Regions from separate parts of the Homo sapiens genome. Here all the other regions are linked to region 1. The links are contacts of gene promoters, found by promoter capture Hi-C in blood cells and fetal thymus (Javierre and others, 2016). All regions are on one chromosome and are shown on one strand. The core of a region is centred on a gene start or on the middle of the fragment in contact, and the rest is flanking DNA. Distances in the headings are between cores, read along the strand shown. Region 1 holds the start of CLASP2 (cytoplasmic linker associated protein 2). Region 2 overlaps CLASP2 (cytoplasmic linker associated protein 2). Region 3 overlaps CLASP2 (cytoplasmic linker associated protein 2). Region 4 overlaps CLASP2 (cytoplasmic linker associated protein 2). Region 5 overlaps CLASP2 (cytoplasmic linker associated protein 2).

The links. Contacts are between HindIII fragments. The CHiCAGO score rates a contact against its expected background, and 5 or more counts as called.
Region 2: a fragment that was not itself captured here is called in contact with the fragment with the promoter of CLASP2 in region 1 in 3 of 17 cell types (M1 macrophages, non-activated CD4 T cells and M2 macrophages); the score reaches 6.5 in M1 macrophages.
Region 3: a fragment that was not itself captured here is called in contact with the fragment with the promoter of CLASP2 in region 1 in 1 of 17 cell types (M1 macrophages); the score reaches 7.1 in M1 macrophages.
Region 4: a fragment that was not itself captured here is called in contact with the fragment with the promoter of CLASP2 in region 1 in 1 of 17 cell types (M1 macrophages); the score reaches 5.8 in M1 macrophages.
Region 5: a fragment that was not itself captured here is called in contact with the fragment with the promoter of CLASP2 in region 1 in 2 of 17 cell types (M1 macrophages and naive CD4 T cells); the score reaches 5.2 in M1 macrophages.

What each region holds. Positions count from the first base shown.
Region 1 is chr3:33,716,964-33,719,623 of GRCh38, forward strand. CLASP2 (cytoplasmic linker associated protein 2) reads right to left here and starts at 1,291. Exons shown (of 39, transcript NM_001365631.1): 1 at 845-1,291. The coding sequence starts at 1,039. RefSeq lists a silencer at 1,023-1,362 and an enhancer at 1,563-1,652. The HindIII fragment of the contact is 12,344 bases long and covers 1-2,660 here.
Region 2 is chr3:33,500,315-33,502,974 of GRCh38, forward strand. It overlaps CLASP2 (cytoplasmic linker associated protein 2), which reads right to left. Exons shown (of 39, transcript NM_001365631.1): 38 at 1,338-1,454. Among named protein-coding and RNA genes, the nearest start is that of UBP1, 61 kb to the left of the region's middle. The HindIII fragment of the contact is 162 bases long and covers 1,257-1,418 here.
Region 3 is chr3:33,534,204-33,536,863 of GRCh38, forward strand. It overlaps CLASP2 (cytoplasmic linker associated protein 2), which reads right to left. Exons shown (of 39, transcript NM_001365631.1): 34 at 1,030-1,258. Among named protein-coding and RNA genes, the nearest start is that of UBP1, 95 kb to the left of the region's middle. The HindIII fragment of the contact is 265 bases long and covers 1,175-1,439 here.
Region 4 is chr3:33,556,445-33,559,104 of GRCh38, forward strand. All of the region lies in intron 29 of CLASP2 (cytoplasmic linker associated protein 2), which reads right to left. Among named protein-coding and RNA genes, the nearest start is that of UBP1, 120 kb to the left of the region's middle. The HindIII fragment of the contact is 217 bases long and covers 1,205-1,421 here.
Region 5 is chr3:33,584,984-33,587,643 of GRCh38, forward strand. The region is part of intron 21 of CLASP2 (cytoplasmic linker associated protein 2); the gene reads right to left. Among named protein-coding and RNA genes, the nearest start is that of CLASP2, 130 kb to the right of the region's middle. The HindIII fragment of the contact is 1,441 bases long and covers 598-2,038 here.

The DNA.
Region 1 (2,660 bases), core at 41-2,540:
ACCAGAAGACAAGAAAGAAAAGTAACTACTAACGACTACGGGGCAAGTTAAATACAAAATATTTACCTGGCCTCCCAACGCGGCTACATTACACCCTGCCTACCACCAACTCTTCAGAAAGGCTCATTCTTTCTCGCACCTCATCTTTGTAACTTTTTCCCCCCCAGCATTAGCCTATCTACTAAGACACATCAACCTAAAATCGTATCCTAATGTCCTATCTGTTGGTCTGGGTAGTGTTTACACAGGTGAACACAAATGTCGAAGTCTTTCACTGATTTTTTTTTCAAAATAAGTGATCAACATTGTGTCCTAGTAACTCCGCAACGTGTCACGGAATCGCTGAATTTGTCATTGTCCACAAGTGTAGAAAAATGTGGTCACAAGTCAGTCCTCGGCTCGCGTACGAAGAGGCGGTCTGCCCAGTGGGGACGCGGGACCCCCCTGTTTCCCCTATTTTTATTTATTTTTTACTTTTTTTGAGACAGAGTCTCACTCTGTCGCCCAGGCTGGAGTGCAGTGGCTCGATCTCGGCTCACTGCAACCTCTGCCTGCTAGATTCAAGCGATTCTCCTGCCTCAGCCTCCTGGGTAGCTGGGATTACAGGCGCCCGCCACCACGCCCGGCTAATTTTTGTATTTTTAGTAGAGACGGGGTTGCACCATGTTGGTCAGGCTGGTCTCGAACTCCTGACCTCGTGATCCGCCCGCCTGTGCTTCCCAAAGTGTGTTTCCCCTCTTAAGCAGTGGTTCGGACGGGAGCTTTCCCGGCCCGGCGCTCGCGTCCGGGATTAAAGGGCTGCCGCGGAGGGCGTGACCAGCCCAGCCTCGCCGCCGTCGCTTACCCGGTAGTTGCTCGAACCCACCCAGCCGGTGAGCGCGTCGACTGTCTTGCCTAGGCGGCCCAGGTCCTCCTCCAGGTCCGAGATGGCGCCGGGGGCGCCAAGGTAGAGCAGGAGCTCCTGGCCGACCTGCAGCCGGCCGCCGACGTCCTTCTGCTGCACCTGGGCGCAGAAGTACTCCATGCTGCGGGGCTCCATGGCTGCGGCCGCCCGCCCGCCTGCCAGTCTGTGAGCGGCCAACTTTCGCCGAGAGCCGCCCAGCCTCCAGTGCGGGTCCCCGCGGGAGCGGGCGGGACTCACTTAGCCCGCCAGGGGCGCGGCTTGCGGGGCGCAGCGGGCGGCGGGAGGAACGCCAAGCGCCCAGCCGCCCCCAAACTAGTCAAACTCGGCGCCCCCCGATCCCCAGCCCGCTTCAGAGGCCGCGGCCGCGGGCGACGTCAGCACGCGCGTGACGTCAGCACGACGCCGGCGAGGGCCCTCCAGTCCGGCTAGCGTTTTGCTGCGGAGGTGGTGGAGGTGGCTGCGGAAACCGCTGGGAGCGATAGGACCTCTAGGGAGACTTGGGGTCCGAGTTGGGCCGAGCCCCCTGGGAGGCGGGCCGTTCTTTGCTAGCCGCTGTCAGGGCACCCTGCCCTCGCCCTGTGAAATGTGGAACGTTTCCAAGTTTGCCTCCACTTGTATTCAACACTTAGGAAAGTACTTGGCATCCCCCTTTCCCGCCCCCACTGCCGGTTTAAAAAAAAAAAAAAAAAAGAATACACTCCTGACTTCTGCTTCCAGCCACCACCACAGTCACTGTGTAATACTTAAAAAAACAAAACAAAACAAAACTTAGGTTTGCCTAAAGTAAAACGCACAGATTTTCAGCGTACACTTCATGAGTTTCGGCAAATGTATTCACCCGTGGAACCGCCACCCCAGTGAGGGTACAGCACGTTTCCAACACCCCAGGAAGTCCCAGGACACTTCCCAATTATCTGCTCTTCCCTAGGCAATTCTAATTTGATTTCTAGCATGGTAACATAGTTTTCCCTGTTCCTGAACTTCATACAGTCTGTGCTTCTTTGGAGTCTGGTTTCTTTTAGCATAACGTTTGGGGTCCATCCAGCGCTGTTGGTGTCTCAGAAGTCCATTCCTTTTTATTGCTTTCCATTCTGTGGAATCACTACCATTTGTCGATCCATTCACTTGTTGGTAGATATTTGGGTTGTTTCCTATTTTTTATAATTATGAATAAAGCTGCTACAACGGTTAGTGCACAAGTTTTTGTGTGGATATATTTTCTTCTCTCATGGGTAAATAAATACCAAGGACTGGCATTACTAGGTCTTGTAAGTTGTATGTTTAACTTTAGAAGAACCTGCCAAATTGTTTACCAAAGTGACTGGATCATATTAAATCCCCACCAGCAATGCTTGAGAGTTCCAGTTGCTCCACAATATTTGATATGGTCAGGGTTATTAGTTTTAGCCATTCTGGTGGGGGTAAAGTTGTCTAATACATTCCAAAAGCACACTGTGTTTATCTTCTTGACAATTATTCCCAATCACAACAAAATGATTATTTATGTAATATCTTTCTCTTCTAATACACAGAAAGCTCCAGGAACCTTTGTGTTTTCCTAGGGTGGTGCCTAGCAAATAATGGGTGGCCAATTTAAGTTAAATGAGTGAATGAATTCAACAAAAATTGATATTTGAAATATTCACAATAACTAAGAATAAACAAACTCAAAATTCAAAGAAATTGACTGTTTTCTGTGTTCTTTTTTCAGTATTTCTGTGTTTCACATTGTATTGAGTTTGTAAAGTTTCTTCCA
Region 2 (2,660 bases), core at 88-2,587, 220 kb before region 1:
CATCTGGCCTACTTGTTTCATCTAACGTTATTCCAAAATATTTTTTCCACCTACCTACTGTCTTCACATGTAACATTATTACTGGCTACCTACTGTTCTGATAAAGTGCTGAATTTTAATTGTTTTGGAAGGTTTGCTTTTTAAACATTAACTCTTTGATCCAAGAGTTTTTAACCTGCTAGCCATGGGATTCACGGGATCACAGAACCCTCTGAAACGACATGTAATTGTTTCCATTGTGCATTTTTCTATTTTTTTTAAAACTTTGTCTCTCATGGTTTTATCTGAATGCATTTTTCTTAAGATGAGATTTTACCTAAGTCTCGAGGTGGTTTATAACCCGAGTTAAGAATTATTGTTAAATCTATCTATAACTTAATGTAAAGTGTGTTACCTAGGCTCATTTTCCATTATATGTATATTCTGCTTTTTTGCTATTAAAAGATAAATTTGACCACAGTAAGACAATCCTTAGGGTTTCAGAAATTCTTTAAGTGACGGTGAGTGCTTTCTGCTAAATGGTTCATAAGCCATGATTCAACAATCAGAAGTTATCTTCACCCTTGAGAACAAACTTCTAATTCAAAACAATTATTATCATTTTTATTATTAGAGACACGGTCTTCTCAGTATGTTGCCCAGGCTGGTCTCAAATTCCTGGTCTCAAGTGATCCTCCCACCTCGGCCTCCCAAAGTGATGGGATTACGGGTATGAACCACTTTGCCTGGCCACCTTAGCAGAATGAATTTTAAAGTACTGGTAGTAGCAATCAAATGAGAAAGGCAAGACTTACTTATTTTTTTAAGTCTGAACAATGAATTAGAAAACTTTTATTTTAACACACCAAGTTAAAGTTGCACATTAATTTGGATAATAGAAAGAGAAGAACAAATATTTGATTATCATAGTTCTTAAGGGGAAAAATTTTTAAATGTGCAAGTATTCTATATTTGGAGAGATATACAGTAATCCATTAATATATATAACCACAACAGTCTATTTATTCTTAATAAAACAGTGGTCAGGGGTAAAGATTTGGGTCTGGGATTTGGTAAGGAGTCAGCTAACTATTATAAATAACCAGAAGCTGCAGGCATTTTCTCTCACAGAAACCTACCCATCACCCCAACAAACTGCTGACTTCACCTGAGTGAACATCTAACAAATGTTAGAGTAGAAAAAGATAAAATACAAAACAGAAATAATAAGGGCAAGTTGGATGCTCAAAGCCTGACTTATTAAATGCCAAATAAAAAGCTTACTGTTACAGACATGTAACTAAGTTTTGAAAGATGTACTATGGCCACCATCTCTAAAACACAGCAGCACTACTTACTTTACTGCCAGTAAGTTGACTGAGATGTGGTTTTAGTTCATCACCAATTACCGCATGAACAGCCACCAGGCAGAAGACACAAGCTTTCCGAACACTGCTCTCTGAATTATCATAACCCTACGGAGAGAAGTCCACTGTTAGTACTCCAGAGAAGTCCACTGTTAGTACTCCCTTTTTAACAGGGTCAGAAGATGCAGCTGAAAGATGAAATCTCGAGCATACTAAGGAGAGAAAAGTGCAGATCAAAGTTAACTTTTTAACCTTTTCAAGCATAGACAATGCCCTTCTCTCCCTTCACTTCCCCTACTGCGCCCTCACTGTTAGCCCTCTATATCAGGTTCTTACTTAGTCTGGAAAGCTGCACTTCTCTGACTCTGAGGCTGCTCACTTGCCAATTCACCCTGAAAAAAGTCTCCAGACTAACTTTCCTAAAGCATTAGGTTTTAAGGCAGTCAGCACTCCTCACTATCCGATAAAACCTAAATTCATTGGTTTGGTAGCTCAAGGTAGTCACATAATCCAGGCCCGATTAAGTTTTACATCTGTTCCATCCCTGCAATTACTTTCTCTAATAAATCTAGTCTATGTAAACTATTCCCCTATGCTTTTACTGTGCCTTTAATAACCTAATTTTATTTAAAAAATTAACTTGTTTCTAATTGACAAATAATAATTGTATATATTTATGGGGTATAATGTGATGTTTCAATACATGTACACTGTGGAATGACCAAATCAGGCTAATCAACATATCCATCACCTCAGATACTTATCATTTCTTTGTGGTAACATTTAAAATGCATTTTCTTTTATAATTGCTACTTTGAAATATACATTATTAACTAGTTACTGTGCTGTGTAATACGTAGCTAGAACCTAATACTCTTTAACTGAAACTTTGTACCTTTTGACCAACATCTTCCCTTTCTCTGTCCATCTCTCCCACTTACGCTTTTGATCACACTACTTACTCTATTTCAATACTCTACAGCAATCTTATCCATGAAATATTTTTGAATGAATTATCTGAATGAATATGCACATTTTACTCCAGGGAAAAAATAGAGCTCATCTCCACTAAAATCCTAATCATTTTATCTTTCTAAAACAACTGCAGAAACATTAAAATATCAATAGATATCTAGCTAAAAGAAGTACATTATTCCTAAGTCATGCAATCAAACTGTTAATTTTATTTTCCATCATTTTAATATAATTGCAATTATAATGTAAATTAATTTTTCTATATGGTCTTTATAATAATGATATGAGGCATTCATTTAGTATGCTTCCTAATTTAACCATTCTAGAGTATTGTAAGTT
Region 3 (2,660 bases), core at 57-2,556, 180 kb before region 1:
ACTAGAATCTTAAGAAAAGTATTAATGAATTAAGTAATTAAGAAAAAATATGTTTCCTTATTATAAAAAATAACTAGGACAGGCACAGTGGCTCACACCTACAATCCCAGCACTTTGAGAGGTTGAGGTGGGAGGATCACTTATGGCCAGGAGTTCAAGACCAGCCTAGGGAACATAGGGAGGCCCCATCTCTATAGAACATTTATTTAAAAAGGTAAAATTAGCTGAGTATGGTGGTCCGTAGTCCCAGCTACTCAGGAGGCTGAGGTGGGAGGATCGCTTGAGCCTACGAGGACAAGGCTGCAGTGAGCTATGTTTGAGCGACTACATTCCAGACTGGGCAACAGAGTGACACCCAGTCTCTTAAACAAAACACTAAAACATTTGTAGTGTTTTGTACTATATCATCAGTTTTTATACAACTTACCTGCATCTTACTGCACACTGGGATTAGGTAGTATAATCATCATCATCCTCTTTTGGAGGTGATAACTGAGACTCGGGAAAGTTAACCATCTTGCCAGGCTATGCAGCTTAGTAAGTGTTAGAGCTTAGAACTAAGCCCATTTCACCCAAATTCAAATCCTAATGGTAACTTTCCTTATATTTCGTCCTTGAAATGTATTTTATTAATAAAAAAGTTTATGACTTCATGCTTAAAGGGCTACTATAAAGAATGGGTATTTCTTCAAAGGTTTTGTCATCGTGGTATAAAAATTAATGACCAAATAAATTGTGTCTAGAGGTAAAGTAAATTTATAAGCTACAATTGGTTTTAGTTATTTCTGGGTGGTAACTAAGGTTTTCTTGATTTTGATCATGATCTCAAGATGACTACCCTGTTTCTCATTCAGGAGAAGAAAATGACCAAAGCACTAGAGATGAGTTCCTAGAAGATGGGAGAAAACATTCTTATTCTAAAAATTGTTACTTTTTGGGAGTTATAATAAAAAAGCATATGCATTTCTTTTACTTCATCAATTACCAAGTTCTCCAAAACAGACAGTAGCAGTGTGACCCAGAACATACCGTCAGGAAACTGGTCAGCATCATCATCAAACATGGCTTCCTTGAGGGCAGACTTGTTGAAGGGACTGATGCTATCTGAATAGTTATATGGATTATAGTCTCGAGAGCGTGGAGAGGAGTGAGTAGGCATTGAATGGAGCAATGAAGCTTTATTATCAAGAGCTGTTTGACTTGAGTCAGTAGCATCACCTCCTGCTCTTGGGTCAGACATCCCAGGACCACCACACATCTATCAATGGGAAGTGAAAGCCACAGCAAATTAACTCATTTTTCAAGTATCTATTTAACATTCTAAAAAGATATTTCTCTACTGCTTAAAAGACAATTTTAAAAAGATAACAATAACCAGCTAAAAAATTTAAGTAATGGCAATCAACATTATGAGTTACAATTTATATTCCAGACGTCAAAGCTTAAAAATATAAACTACAGCTGTGAAGGCAAATAAGAACTGTAAAAGAATGCTGCCTCTAATGATTATTACAGTTCCCTTGCAAACAACTTGACCAGACAATATGTACAGTGTGATTACCAGCAACTTCTCCATGTCAGTTAAAGATACAAAAGAACTTTCATAAGCAATACAGTACTACAAGCTGCCAGATTCCATTATTAAGGTAATGGTATATCATACAACAGTATGTCAAAAAAGCATAATAAAATCAAATTTAAAAAGGCTTGCTTTAAGGAGAAAAAAAAAAAAAAGAAAGGCTTAAAAGGCCTGCATAACTTTTGGAAGGATGCCAAAAGAATTTGGGTACATACTTATCAAAATATGAATATGAATATTGATACAAATACTGGTATCAAAATAATTACTACCATGGGTATCAGCATCACCACCATCCACTGGGCAACTATGTGCCAAGCCATTTGCTAGGCACTTTACAAATATTCTTAAAATATTTACTATGCACATATTATATGCCTGGCATTGTTCACAGCATTGGGAATACATCAGTGAGCAAAAGAGAGAACGATGCCTACCCCAGTGGAGTTTATATTTTAGTGGAGGGACAGACCAAAAAAAAAAAAAACTTAATGAACGAATAAAGTATACGACATGTTAGAAGAAGGAATCATGAATGCTGAGGTGGGAGGATGGAGTTCACAGATTAAATAGGATGAGTAGGGTTCACTGAGAAGCCACTTGAATAAACACTTGAAGGAAGTAAGGGAATCAGCCAAGGGGCTATCTGGAGGTAGAGTGTTTCAGGTAGAGAAAACAGCCAATACACAGATCCTGAAGCAGGAACGTGCATAGTAAGTTCAAGGAATAGCAAGGAGGCCAGTGTGGCAGGAGCAGAGTGAACAAGGAGGAAACTAGCAGGAGATGAGGCCAGAGAGGTAACAGAAAAAAAGCCTATTGTATAGACTTTGGTTTTTACTCTGAGACAGAGACCTCCTATAGAGTTGAGTGAGAGTGAGAGTGGACTATAGGAGGTCAAGGGCATAATCAAGGAGGCCAAATTTTAATAATCCAGGTGAGAGAAATGATGAAGATGATGGCTCAAACCAGAAAGGCAGTGGTGAGAATAGGCTGAATTCTGGATACATTCTGCAGTGGAGACAAAAGATTTCCTGACAGATTTGGTATGGAGGATGAGAAAAACAGAGGTCTCAACAACTCT
Region 4 (2,660 bases), core at 63-2,562, 160 kb before region 1:
TTTTTTTTTGAGACGGAGTCTCACTCTGTCATCCAGGCTAGAGGGCAGTGGCGCAGACTCGGCTCACTGCATCCTCTGCCTCCTGGGTTCAAGCGATTCTCCTGCCTCAGCCTCCCGAGTAGTTGGGATTACAGATGCCTGCCACCACGCCTGGCTAACTTTTTGTATTTTTAGTAGAGACATGGTTTCACCATGCTGGCCAGCCTGGTCACAAACTACTGACCTCAGATGATCCACCTACCTTGGCCTCCCAAAGTGCTGGGATCACAGGCGTGAGCCACCGTGCCCAGCCAAAAAGTGATTTTCCCTCATGGATTTGCTAATACATCTATTATCTATATTAAATACATATTTATAAATAATTTAGGCTTTTAGAGAAACAATCTGTGATTCCAGTTTCCAGCATAATGTTTTCTAATAGGAAAGTTAATTTTAATTTGTGCATATCTCATTTCAATCTTCGCTTTGTCTTTCTCTTCAAGTCTCCTGCAACTTATTCTCTCTGAACTCAACTATCAACCCCTTATTTTTATTTATTTATTTTTTTGAGACCAAGTCTCACTCTGTCTCCCAAGCTGGAGTGCAGTGGCATGATTTTGGCTCACTGCAACCTCCGCCTCTCCGGTTCAAGTGATTCTCCTGCCTCAGCCTCCCGAGTAGCTGGGACTACAGGTGCCCAACATCACCCCTGGCTAATTTTTGTATTTTCAGTAGAGACAGGGTTTCTCCATGTTGGCCAGGCTGGTCTCAAACTCCTGACCTCAAGTGATCCGCCTGCCTCAGCCTCCCAAAGTGCTGGGATTACAGGTGTGAGCCACGGTGCCCAGCCTCACCCTTACTTCTTAAGCTGGTTTAGACCTTCATTTGCACTGGTTCATGAAACATCTCTATATATATTATCTACTTTTTTCTTTCTTTCCTTTCTCTTTCAATGGACAGGGTCTCACTCTGTCTCTTAAAAAAAGAGGCTCCCAGGCTGGAGTGCAGTGGTGTGATTAGAGCTCACTGTAACCTCACTCCTGGGTTCATGCGATCCTCTTGCCTCACCTCCTGAGTAGCTAGGACTATAGGCATGAACTACCACACCTAGTTAACTCCACATACATTTCAGTAGCACTTGAACACCACTACAGGTACCTATATCATAACTTTTATTACTGTTTAGAGTTTATTATATATTATAGTTAATAATGATAAAATTACAAGCTTTATATTCCCAGGAACACCTAGCACACTGCCTTGGTCATAAAATGAGTTAAAAAATATCTATTAATAATATCAAGTAAATTATTCTTCTGCAGGTCACTTTTCAAAATCAAACAGATGAAATCTCTTTCCCCAAGCAGCTCTAAGAAAACAACATTATATTGAGTGTAAGTTGTGAAAGGAAAATAAAACGGCCTATGCCAAAAGGAAAGTTAAGCTTGGGAACTCAGTCATTCAGAAAACTGACTCCCATTTGTTCATAAACAGACAGCTGCAAGATAGAAGGCTACATAGTTCTTCAGGTGGTCTCCCTCATGCTGACAATGTAAATTAACAGTTTATCTTCACAGGTAGAGGACAACGATGAGACTAGAAATCATCCCCCACTCACCCAGAGACAAATACATTTACTTCTTCCTCTACTCTGTGTTTACTTTCTCTTAGGTAAGATGCAGATTTACTGAGCACGAGATGAATGCCTGACTGTTCCTCTTTCCCCTCAAGCTGGCTCTTTCTCTTTTAAATATTAAAGTCCTCAAAACCCTCTCTGGAAGAATGAACAGGCTTTCTTCTTGTGTCTCTTTCTCCTGGATGCATCCTCAATCTTGGCAAACTAAACCTCTAAATTGATTGAGACTTGTCTCAGACACTTTTCGGTTTACAAAGTCAGCCCTGATAAGAAACATAATTGTGATTCTGAGGCACAATTGCATTCAGAAACTTAAGGGAAAAATCAATCCTGGGCAGTAACGCTTGTAGAAATATATTTCGTGCAGGATAGAGCAGAAAAATATAGGACTCGTATAAGCACATATGCTTGTTATTTCCCTGACTTTAATCTCATTTAATAAAACTCACTAAAAAAAAAAAACCTTTAGCAAAGAATTCAGGAGCTATTCTTTTACATTTTTTCTTTTATGTAAAATTTAATAATCACTTTAAATCACAAATTGGAATCCATTTAGTTTTCATATTAACTGAAAAATGTGTGTATATAACAAACGAGAAAGTTAATTATAACTCCAAATGTTATGCATACATCAGAAAAAAAAAGAAAGTTACTATTTCAGTTAAGGATAATTGAAGAAAGGGACTGAGATTAAATTTAAAAAATTTTGCTTAGTTAATACATAGGCAAAACTGACATTTTGCCTAAAATACCCGTTAAAATGCCTGACACTTAAAAAAAAAAAAAGTAATGGGAAATCACAAACATAAAATTAGATAAGACTTTATAGAGTGAGTTTGCATTACCAGCTTAGGGTTAGATGGCAATAATGTGATGCCTTCCAAACGTGTATCACCATTAAGTTTCTCCAAAAGACTTAGAGTCTGGCATTGCATTTAAATAACATTTGAAATCAAATGTGTGCATGCGTAAAAGGCTTACAAAGGTTAGTAGTTGAATACAGATGCAAACACTGCAGAGAGTTAAGAAAAGAAATAATGCAGAT
Region 5 (2,660 bases), core at 68-2,567, 130 kb before region 1:
AAAAATTCAAGAAATATTGATAATACAGAGAAAACTGTGACAGTATGGCAGGTTCTACGCTCAAAGGAAATAGACCGAGGAAGATTTAAATATAATTATAACCTGGAAAAAAAAAGGTATACTACATATATGAGCACTAAATGGTAAATCATCTAAAATATACTTTCAGTTTTGGAGGTATAAGACACTATGTTTAATAAGGAGAACATTATTATAATTTTTAGAACACAAATGGTATACAAGATTTCCAAAGAAATCACTTATCTGACAATCCATTTCATATGGCTATCATGTTCTACGTGAATAAGCTATATACAGTCATATGTCACTTAACAATGGGATACATTCTGAGAAACGTGTTGTTGGGTGATTTTATCATTGTGTGAACATCATAGAGTGTACTTACACAAACCTAGATGGTATAGCCTACTACAGATCTATATGGTATATAGCTTATTGCTCCTAGGCTACAAATCCTATACAGTATGCCATTAACAATACTGTAGGCAACTGTAACACAATGGTAAATATTTGTGTATCTAAAAATACCTAAACACAGAAAAGGTACAGTAAAAATATAGTATTATAATTTTTTAAAGCTTTATTTCCAATGGTTTTTGGGGTAGAGGTGGTGTTTGGTGACATGAATAACTTCTCTAGTGGTGATTTCTGAGATTCTGGTGCACCTGTCACCCGAACAATGTACACTGTACCCAATACGCAGTCTTTTGTTCCTCATCTCCTTCCCAGTATTATAATTTTACGGGACTACTGTCACATATGTGGTCACTGATTAAATGTGGTTATGCAGAGCATGACTGTATTAAAAAAAAACCCGGTAATTCTATCACTATTTTTTGTTAAGTATATAATAATGATAATCTGTTTCATTTTAAAATAGTTTGCCTGCTGAGATTTCTCTGAATGGTACAGCAAAGCTATCTGTCTTACTATTAGACGTATTTTTAAACTTAACAAAATTAAATTTTAAATGCTGACAAAATTGGGCCAGCTGAAAAAGAAACTTGTTTTTTGCTATTTGTCTTCAAATAGCAAAGCGCTCTTGGGTAGTGACATTCTGGGTTATAGAAGTCCCAAGGGTAGAAGGGGAGTAAGGGGAAAACATCAAATGAATCAGATCCTTTTCTTTCTTTTCTTTTTTCCCCCCCGAGACAGAGTCTTGCTCTGTCACCCAGGCTGGAGTGCAGTGGCGCGATCTCGGCTCACTGCAACTTCCGCCTCCCGGGTTCAAGTGATTCTCCTGCCTCAGATTCCTGAGTAGGTGGGATTATAGGCTCCTGCCATCGCACCTGGTTAATTTTTGTATTTTTAGTAGAGACAGGATTTCACCATGTCGGCTAGGCTGGTCTCGAACTCCTGACCTTGTGATCTGCCTGCCTCGGCCTACCAAAGTGCTGGGATTACAGGCCTGAGCCACCACGCCTGGCCTCTTTTCAAATGAGTAATTTTCAGTTTTGGAAGGTGGACATGTGGTCAGGAACACAGGTAGAGTTAGTAAAATCTTTTCAGAGACTGTGCATGGGTTTAAAAAAAGTTTTAAAAACATGTTTTTAAACTAGAAATGCAAGGGTTAAATTTTAAGGAGATAAGCTCCCTGTCAATCAAAGCACTTTATGTCTACGTTGAATAGAAAAAGTACTAGATAAGAACTCCAAGATATAATCTAAATGTAGATTCAGAAAAGTAACAGAAAAACTAAAGTTGCAATTAAATAAATCTTCATGAAAGCAACCTTTTCCCTTCGTGGGCACTACTTCTACCCAGTAAGAGGGCTGTATGATTATATGTTATACAGTCTTACCCAATCAGGCTTCATTTCCACAGAGACTCAAATGCCAATGGGACAAGCACAGGATGTCAAAAAAGAGAGGGGCACTGTGTAAAGCAGGGAGTAGTAAGATGACTGATCAAGAGGGGGGGTGCCTGCCCTTTCCTAAAGTGAGAGGTGACTTTTTAGTTCTAGCCACCTTTGTCTTGAGGTAATAGTGGATAGGTCTTGGGATTTTTCAAAAATGAAAGCTTTGATATTTCCAGATTTTTAGCATGTTCTATAGGCCAAATAATACATAAATGGAGACAGACTAGACATGGTCCATGGGCTGGCGATCTGTGATTCTTTTTTTTCTTTCTTTTTTTTTTGAGTCGGAGTCTTGCTCTGTCGCCCAGGCTGGAGTGCAGTGGTGTGATCTTGGCTCACTGCACGCTCTGCCACCCAGGTTCACGCCATTCTCCTGCCTCAGCCTCCTGTGTAGCTGGGACTACAGGCACCCGCCACCACGCCCAGCTAATTTTTTGTATTTTTAGTAGAGACAGGGTTTCATCGTGTTAGCCAGATGGTCTCGATCTCCTGACTTCATGATCCGCCTGCCTCGGCCTCCCAAAGTGCTGGGATTACAGGCGTGAGCCACCGCACCCGGCCGATCTGTGATTCTTACTACAGTTTTCTTGGAATGGTCTTGCTGAATACAATTTATATTAATGCTTAATTCTTAAACTTTACCAGCATACAAAATGAAACTTATTTCCTATTAGTGATAACAATATTGTAAAACAAAGCAGTGTTTCCAATGAAATTAACAATTTACTGTCTGTATAGAAGGAATTCTAAATTATTGTAAGGAAATTATTCAAGTGTATTT